2 separate regions of the Homo sapiens genome follow, and region 2 is linked to region 1. Evidence: promoter capture Hi-C in human tissues and cell types (Jung and others, 2019). All regions are on one chromosome and are shown on one strand. The core of a region is centred on a gene start or on the middle of the fragment in contact, and the rest is flanking DNA. Distances in the headings are between cores, read along the strand shown.

Evidence for each region. The method cuts DNA at HindIII sites, captures the fragments that hold promoters and counts their contacts. A contact is called where the count stands out against the background at its distance.
Region 2: a fragment that was not itself captured here is called in contact with the fragment with the promoter of SEC24C in region 1 in 1 of the 25 tissues and cell types used here (dorsolateral prefrontal cortex).

The regions. Positions count from the first base shown.
Region 1 is chr10:73,741,722-73,746,076 of GRCh38, reverse strand. It overlaps SEC24C (SEC24 homolog C, COPII component), which reads right to left and starts at 1,705. Exons shown (of 23, transcript NM_198597.3): 1 at 1,640-1,705. LOC124902453 (a long non-coding RNA gene) reads left to right here and starts at 1,812. Exons shown (of 2, transcript XR_007062195.1): 1 at 1,812-1,860; 2 at 2,866-3,113. RefSeq lists enhancers at 1,190-1,756, 1,657-2,086, 1,757-2,324, 1,164-2,363, 4,029-4,355. The HindIII fragment of the contact is 12,749 bases long and covers 1-4,355 here.
Region 2 is chr10:73,090,169-73,094,556 of GRCh38, reverse strand. All of the region lies in intron 1 of P4HA1 (prolyl 4-hydroxylase subunit alpha 1), which reads left to right. Among named protein-coding and RNA genes, the nearest start is that of P4HA1, 4.5 kb to the left of the region's middle. The HindIII fragment of the contact is 7,132 bases long and covers 1-4,388 here.

The sequences.
Region 1 (4,355 bases), core at 456-2,955:
ACGATTCTCCTGCCTCAGCCTCCCGAGTAGCTGGGATTACAGGCGCGTGCCACCACACCCAGCTAGTTTTTGTATTTTTAGTAGAGACAGGTTTTCACCCTGTTAGCCAGGCTGGTCTCGATCTCCTGACCTCGTGATCCACCCACCTTGGCCTCCCAAAGTGCTGGGATCACAGGTGTGAGCCACCACGCCCGGCCAAAACCGAAGCATTAAAATCAATAAAAGTTGGCCAGGCACAGTGGCTCATGCCTGTAATCCCAGCACTTTGGAAGGCCAAGTCGGGCAGATCACTTGAGGTCAGGAGTTCATGACCAGCCTGGCCAACACGGTGAAACCCAGTCTCTACTAAAAATACAAAAACTAGCCGGGCATGGTGGCACACGCCTGTAATCCCAGCTACTTGGGAGGCTGAGGCAGGAGAAATCGCTTGAACCCGGGAGGCGGAGATTGCAATAAGCCGAGATCGTGCCACTGCACTCCAGCCTGAGCAATAGAGCAAGACGCCCTTTCAAAAAAATAAAAAATAAAGGACACCTGAAAACTCTAGCAAGGTAACAGATTAAAACCAAGTGCAGAACAGGCACCAAAACTTCTTCACATAATCTGAGGAAACAGTTCAAGAATCAGGGGCAAAGTTAGAGTTAGATTTCATGGAAAAAAATCATTCACCTCATCCCTCAAGCAGAAGACTATGAATATTCTAAATTCCAATGCACTTCTCCAACTCTCCTGTTTCTGCTCCCCTTACGATTGTTATGAATCTCAGCCACCATCAAAATTATTACAATCTTGCTCATCAACACAGGGATGAATTAGAGGGCCTTTTCTAAACAGGGTCCTTCCAAGAAAACTATCTCATCACATCTACTTTCAACAGCTGTATCATTCCAATTATCCTGTAGACAGAAGGGGCCCAGAAAGCAGGAGCACTCAGAGTTGCTGCAAAGGGAACAATGGACCTCTCCCCCTTTGCTAGAAGGGCCACCTTGACTATAGAAAAGGAGCTGATCCTGGTCTAAAACTCTTTAAACTCAAAGTTATCTCAATAGCTGTTCTTCCAAACCCTAAACCTTACAGAGGTAGGTCACTGACACTAAGTTTAAAATATGTCCTCTCCCTTTATGTTTCCAAAGCCGGGGGGAGGGGTAAAGAAAGGAGCTTCTTCTCCAGAAAATAATCCCCTCAAACACATTCAAGAGCTTGGAGTCAGACTGAAGTCTCGACTCCATTCTGGGTGGATAGTCGAGGGTGACAACCCAAGGGGGCGGGGCAAGCTTCCTAGAACTCTGAAAGTAGTCAAGCCATGGAGCCTCGGAGAGCCGAGGATCAAAACCGAGAAGCCAAGTCGGCTTCTAGGGCCACGTTAAGAGAGGGGGCTGCTCTGTTAAGCACAGAGACCAAACGTCTTGCACCTTTTAACAGGCTCGGGGCAGGAAGCAGGAGCCGGAATCTGGGCCGGGAGACGAAGGGATGGTCTAGGACCTGCTCCTGGATGGTGGATGCGTGAGGTGAGGGTCTCTACCCAGGCCCCGCCCCCAGGCTCCTCCCTTCTTTCTGAAACCGGACCCCAATCTGGCCAGTAATACCCTGACCTCTCCTTTGCTTTCCTACCCGCCAACCTCCCGATGCCACTCCTCACCCGGCTCCAGATCCAGGTTAGACTTCGTTCCTAACGTCAAGGCTCCCAGGCTCCACTTCCGGTTCCGAGGGGGCCGTCCCGTCACCCCCGGAAGTTCCTCCTCCACGCTTTAGGGCCGGGCCACTTCTTCTGCCACGTCTGCATTTCGGGGACCCGGATGCCGCGCATGCGCCTCTTTCATCTTCCCATCATGGCCGCCGCCTGTGCGCCTCTGCTGAGTCGTATGTATTTCCCTCCTGACATTTTTTTTCAGATGTTCCAGTCACTTTATGGCCTCACCAACAGAAATGAGATTAAAAAGAATTTGTCAAACTATCTTTAATAATGCCCCTTCACTCTGCCTGTGACGTATTAGTGACCTCTGAGCTAGAGTCTTGTAGTCACTTCCTGGTGACCCCTGACCCCGTTGATTTCCGTCCGCTAGGTTGCTCTCACCCATGGCGTTTGCTGGTTATGAGATTTGCGGAACGTGTGGTGGTGGTAAAGGGCACCAACTGTTGTCAACCTGCATGTGGGGGTCTGAGGTCTGGCTCTACAGCTTGTAAAATGGAAATAATAATGCCCAGAGGATGAAATTAGGCCACATAGGCCGCTTGGCATCATAGTAAGCACTCAGTAAAGGTCAATTGTTATTAACCATTTTTATACAGCGCCTTTGTTTAGGTGCAGAGCTTTATCAGAGCCAAAAGATCTCTGCGCTCTGTTGGAAAAGATAGTTCCTGCAGTAATTATTAGTACCCCATTTAATGGCTAAGTAATTATAGCTAACAGTGCTAGGATTTCTTTTTCATATATGACTTCATTTGAACTTTTCAGTACTATTTGTTGATTTCATAATTTTTCGAGCACTGCTGTTGAAACTGCCTTTGCAAAATTACAACTGAGGAAATTATGATAGTGGAAGAAATCAGACTTAACCGACTCCATCTTGCTTCTAACCTTTAAGCTGTCCTTATTCATTCCTGGGTGTAGGTGGAACTAACTTTGGGGAGGAATTCAGTTTATGGTTTGAAACAAAATTGATAATAGCCCCTTCCCGAAAAGACCCCCTTCTTGCCTGGGGACCAGTCTGTCTTTACAGGACTAACAAATTAGCTACAAGATTACAAATTACAGTTTAGGGGACATGCAGCCTCTCGCTCCAAGAGTCTGAACCTCCCCAAATTGCTTTTAGGAATAACATAACTATTGTAAAACCTAAGATTAGTGCTTGAGATGTTTTGCAGACCCTGCACTCATTGGATCAGCTGACTACCTAGACCAGTAACCTGGCTCAATCAGTTCTGCCATTCCACCCAGGAACAGAAAACAGCAAGAAAACCTCACTTTGACTCCCTGTGATTCCGTCTTCAACCTGACCAATCAGCACTCCCCGCTTCCCAAGCTCCTACTCGCCAAATTATCTTTAAGAACTCTGATCCTCAAATGCTCAGGGAGACTAATTTGTGTAATAATAAAACTCTGGTCTCCCACACAGCTGGCTCTGCGTGAATTACTCTTTCTCCATTGCAATTCCCTGGTCTTGATAAATCAGCTTTGTCAAGGCAGCAGGCAGGGTGAACCCACTGAGCGCTGACATTGTGTGCCAAGCCATGTTCTTGGGTCTGGAAATAGAGCAGTGAACAAAAGTGTTTGTTCTCATATTATTGACAGTAAATATCAGTTATTCTGAGGCACAGAGTGGTTTATTCACTGAAAAATTTGCACTTTAGGCTGTGCTGGAAACTATATATTAGGCATTGAGCATGCTTTACTAAACAAGCAGATTGTTCTTGTCCTCTGTTTTGTTTTGTGACAGTCTTGCTCTGTCTCCAGGCCGGAGTGCAGTGGCCCAATCTTGGCTCACTGCAACTTCCGCCTCCTGGTTTCAAGCGATTCTTATGCCTCAGACTCCCGAGTAGCTGGGATTACAGGCATGCGCCACCACCCCAGCTAATCTTTGTATGTTTGGTATAGACAGGGTTTCACTATATTGGCCAGGATGGTCTTGATCTCCTGACGTTGTGATCCGCCCCCCTTGGCCTCCCAAAGTGCTGGGATTACAGGTGTGAGCCACTGCGCCCAGCCTGTTTTGTTTTAGAGACGATTTTGCTATGTTGCTCAGGCTGGGCTCAAGTGGTCCTCCTACCTCAGTAGGAGTAGCTGGGTAGTTGAGTAGCTAGGGCTACAGGTATGTGCCCCCACATCTGGCTAATTTTTTGTAGAGGTGAGGTCTCCCTGTGTTGCCCAGGGTGGTCTCAAATTCCTCCCACCTTAGCCTTCCAAATTGCTGAGATTACAGGTGTGAAGCCACCACACCTGACCTATCAGTTTATAGTCAGTGGTTAAGTGTGATCCTCAGATCAGCAGTATCAGTAACACCTGGAAACTTGCTTGAAATGCAAATTTCAGACCCGCTTTACATAGATAAGAGCCAGAAATTCTGGAGGTGGGGCCCAGCAAGCTATGGTTTAAGGCCCTCCAGGTGATTCCATTGCTGATTGAGAACCACTAGTCTAGATGAATAATTTGCCAAATTCAACTAAGATATGTTGAGCACCTGACCTAAACTGGTCCTCTGCTAAGCATTTTCACATGATTCATCCCACTTGACTCATATCGATATAGGAAAGTAAATATCCTCTGTCTTGCTTAAGGTTGCACCCACTAGGGCCGGGCATGGTGGCTCATGCCTGTAATCCTAGCACTTTGGGAGGCCGAGACAGGCGGATCACCT
Region 2 (4,388 bases), core at 1,514-4,013, 650 kb after region 1:
TTATTGCTCTTGAATTGACCTGTGAGATACATAATAGTGGTTCTCAAACTATTTTAAGGTCATGAAATCCTTTGAGAATCTGATGAAAGGTGTGGTCCTATGTCAGAAAATGCAAATACACCCTACATGGAATTTTGTATGTCACTTCCTGCCCCCCCACTCAAGTCCATTCATGAACTTTATTATAAGAACCCCTAAAAAGTAAGAGATGTGAAGTTACTCTCTAAGGGTATCTAGGTGTCTTGAGGCAGTATTGAATGTTTCTGAAAATCGAGCTGGGCATGTAAGTCTGACTGGACTTGTATATGTGGGTGACCCTAATACATTTTTGCCAAAAGGGTTTTAACAAAAGTTAATAGGTTGTTAGAATTGTTGAAATGCTAAATTGTCTAGTCTGTGAAAGTATATCACATTGCATGCCCTCTCCTATATATGGTAACTTAACTTTGGTTTTCCATTCTGAAAGTGGAACAGGCTTGGAAGTAAACAAAAATAAATTGCATAGGCTCTTGGCATTAAACTTTATTGCTTTTCTTGCAGTGAGATCTTGAATCTTGTAATTAAACCATAATGTGTTGTGTGTGTATAAATATATGAATATATATAAAAAATCCAAATAAAATGAGTATGTGTGTGTGTGTGTGTGTGTATATATATATATATATATATATATATATATATATTTTTTTTTTTTTTTTTTTTTTTTTTTTTTTTGAGATGGAGTTTCACTCTGCCACCCAGGCTGGAGTGCAGTGGTGCAATCTCGGCCCACTGCAAGCTCCACCTCCCGGGTTCACGCCATTCTCCTGCCTAAGCCTCCCGAGTAGCTGGGACTACAGCCGCCCACCATCACGCCCAGCTAATTTTTTGTATTTTTAGTAGAGACGGGGTTACACCGTGTTAACCAGGATGGTCTCGATCTCTTTACCTCGTGATCTGCCCGCCTTGGCCTCCCAAAGTGCTGGGATTACAGGTGTGATCACGCCACCGTGCCCGGCCAAAGCTTTGTGTTTCTATTCAAGAAAATTTATTTGTATAAATTGAAGCTGTCCTGTCATTAGGACAGCTTCAGTTTCTCTAGTTGAATAAGTATTGTACCTAAAGAAAAGCTTTGGCAATTCAAAAGGACTCTCATTTAGGTTACTCCAGCAGTTTTTAAACTCGGTGTGGTGAAAAACATTCTTTTTCCTGGTCTTCCTTTGGATGATCAGTATGACTGTTAGTATATTTGATTTGACATTTGCTAAAAATACATTATAGAGATTCAGACTTCTTACCTAGTTGTCATCAGTGAATGAGTTCTATATTGGGCCTTTCTCTTCCTCATGTTTAGTGTTTCATAAAAATGTGTCCATATTACTCATTTCTTTCTTAAATAGTAATATTATGTGGAATTAGTACACTCAGCCTTACTCTCTCTTTTTTTTTTTTTTTTAAGAGATAGGATCTTGCTCTGTTGCCCAGGATGGAGTGCAGTGGTGTGACCATAGCTCACTGCAGCCTTGAACTCCTGGGCTCAAGCAATCCTTCTGCCTCAGCCTCCGGGTGTAGCTCGGGGTACAGATGCATGCCACCATGTCTAGCTAATTTTTTAATTTTTTGTAGAGATGGGATCTTGCTCTGTTGACCAGGCTAGTCTCGAACTCCTGGCCTCAAGTGATTCTCCCATCTGCCCCACAAAGTGTTGGGATTATAGGTGTGAGCCACCATGCCTGGTCATCCTTACTCTCTTGTTGGACACTTGAGCTGTTTCTCCATTATAAGTAGTGCAAAGAGAGGACTGTAATTTAGTGGTTTATTTTATCAACCTGTATAATTACAGTAAACTTTAACCAATTTTTTAATTTTTAAATTTATATTTAAATTTTTTTTTTTTTAGAGACAGGGCCTTACTATGTTGCCCAGGCATGGTGGCTCACACCTGTAATCACAGCACTTTGGAAGGCCGAGGCAGGAGGATCACTTGAGGCCAGGAGTTCAAGACCAGCCTGGTCAGCATAGTGAGACCCCATCTCTCTACAAAAAAAATTTTTTTTTAATTAAGGGGGCATGAGGTTGCATGCATCTGTAGTCTAACTACTTGGGAGGCTGAGGTGGGAGGGTCGCTTGAGCCCAAGAGTTGGAAGCTGCAGTGAGCTATGATAGCACCATTGCACTCTAGCCTGGGTGAGAGTGCAAGACCCTGTCTCTAAAAAAAAAAAAAAAAAAAAGAAAAGAAAAAAAAATTATTTACAATATGGCCAGTAGACTGTAGGAAAATCAAGAATGATGAGAAATGTTTCATAGGAGAAGTAGGACATAAAAATTACATGATATAGCACCATGTGGCTAACATTTTACTAGATATTAAATCTGTAGCACTGAATGGAAATGCATATCTAGATTCACATCCTCTACAACCATGAATTCATTTTTCCCTGTTCTAGTATACATGGTCTTATTTTGTCTCTCTTTACCTCAACTTGAGAAATTTGGATCTGGCATTAGAGTAAACAGATAATTGAAGACTAGAAAGAGGTAGACTGGGTGGAAATAAAAGTGGAATTTTGACAGAATAGCCTTGGGAGGGATGAAGCTGAGTATACCTGGGCCTCAGAGCAATAATCCATTTTTTAGGAGGAAAGGGACTGCTAAAGCCAGCTTTTGAGTATTCTACTCTGACCTGAGTGGCCTTGGTCTGAATAGCTCATGTTCAGAGATAAGAGTATATTTAACTTTTTTGTACTAAGAATAGTATTTGAGTAATGTTATAGGTACATATGAGAATTTGGCCTTCATCTCTGCCGAGTCAGTTAAACACAAGTTTCTCTAGATATTTCCATTACAAGAATCAAAGCTCTTTGATTTTTGGAACTTCAGTAAAACCCAAGAATGAATAGCCGAGAACTATCATACAAGTCATAAAATTAAAAGGCATTGAACAGTGTATGAAGCATCAGATATCCTGTTACATGTGTCTGCAACAATAAATTAAATATTGATTAACTGATTTTAAGTAGGCTCAAGACTTCTCTTACAGTTCTAATCTTATATTAACTAGATTTGCATATCTAATTTCTCCAAAAATATGATCAAGAAATGTTTATTTTAGTCTAGGCGTGGTGGCTCACATCTGTAATCCCAGTGCTTTGGGAGGCTGAGGTGGGAAGATCTCTGGAGCCCAGGAGTTCAAGGCTGCTGTGAGCTCTGATTGTTCCACTCCACTCCAGCCTGGGTGACAGAGCCAGACCCTGTCTCAAAAAAACAAAAAAAGTTGGTATTTCTAAAACCTACTGGTTGAATTTAGGACCTCAAAATGTTACTTGTGTGTGTGACCTTTGTTCTTGCCCTATGGTTCTGACAACCTTCCTCCTTTTTATTTATTTATTTATTTATTTATTTATTTTTTTGGTAAACTCAGGCAACATATTCATAGTCAAAGGTTACATGAAGACATTCTCAAATTTACATGATTTCAAAATTTAGTTACTTCTTTTTTTTTTTTTTTTTTTTTTTTGAGATGGACTCTCACTCTGTCACCCAGGCTGGAGTGCAGTGGCGCAATCTCGGTTCACGGCAACCTCTGCCTCCTGGGTTCAAGCAATTCTCTGCCTCAGCCTCCCGAGTAGCTGGGATTACAGGCACCCGCCACCACGCCCGACTACTTTTTTGTATTTTTAGTAGAGACAGGGTGTCACCATCTTGGCCGGGCGGGTCTCGAACTCCTGACCGGGGGTGATCCATCAGCCTCGGCCTCCCAAAGTGCTGGGATTACAGGCATGAGCCACCGCACCTGGCCTGCAGTTACTTCCTTTAACCTCAAAGATATTTTGAAAATAGACCTCAATTTACTATGCCTGAATTTAAAAAACCTTAATATTGTATTTGAAAATAGTGAATAGTGACCATTGCCACCAAGTAGAGTGATAGTAATAAGTAAAACACTAATCTTTGATATAAGGGTGATTACTAATAAATTGAATAAACTGATATATTTTAACGACTTTATTGAGCAAAATTGACAGGACAAATTGCATATATTTACAGTGTACAATTTGATAAATTTGACAAAAATATCTACTTAAAAAAATATCAGTACAATCAAGATAAGGAACATATCCATCACCTTCAAGAGTATCCTCAAGGTCAGGCACAGTGGCTTAGGCCTGTAATCCCAACCCTTTGGGTGGCCGAGGCAGGAGGACTGCTTGAGCCCAGGAGTTCCAGACCAGCCTGGGCGACATAGAAAGACTTCATCTCTACACAAAATAAAATAACATTAGCTGGGTGTGATGGTGCCTGCCTGTAATCCTAGCTACTTGGGAGGCCGAGGCAGGAGGATTGCTTGAGCTGGGGAGGTTGAGTCTTCAATGAACTGTGATTGTGCTACTGTACTCCAGCCTGGTGAC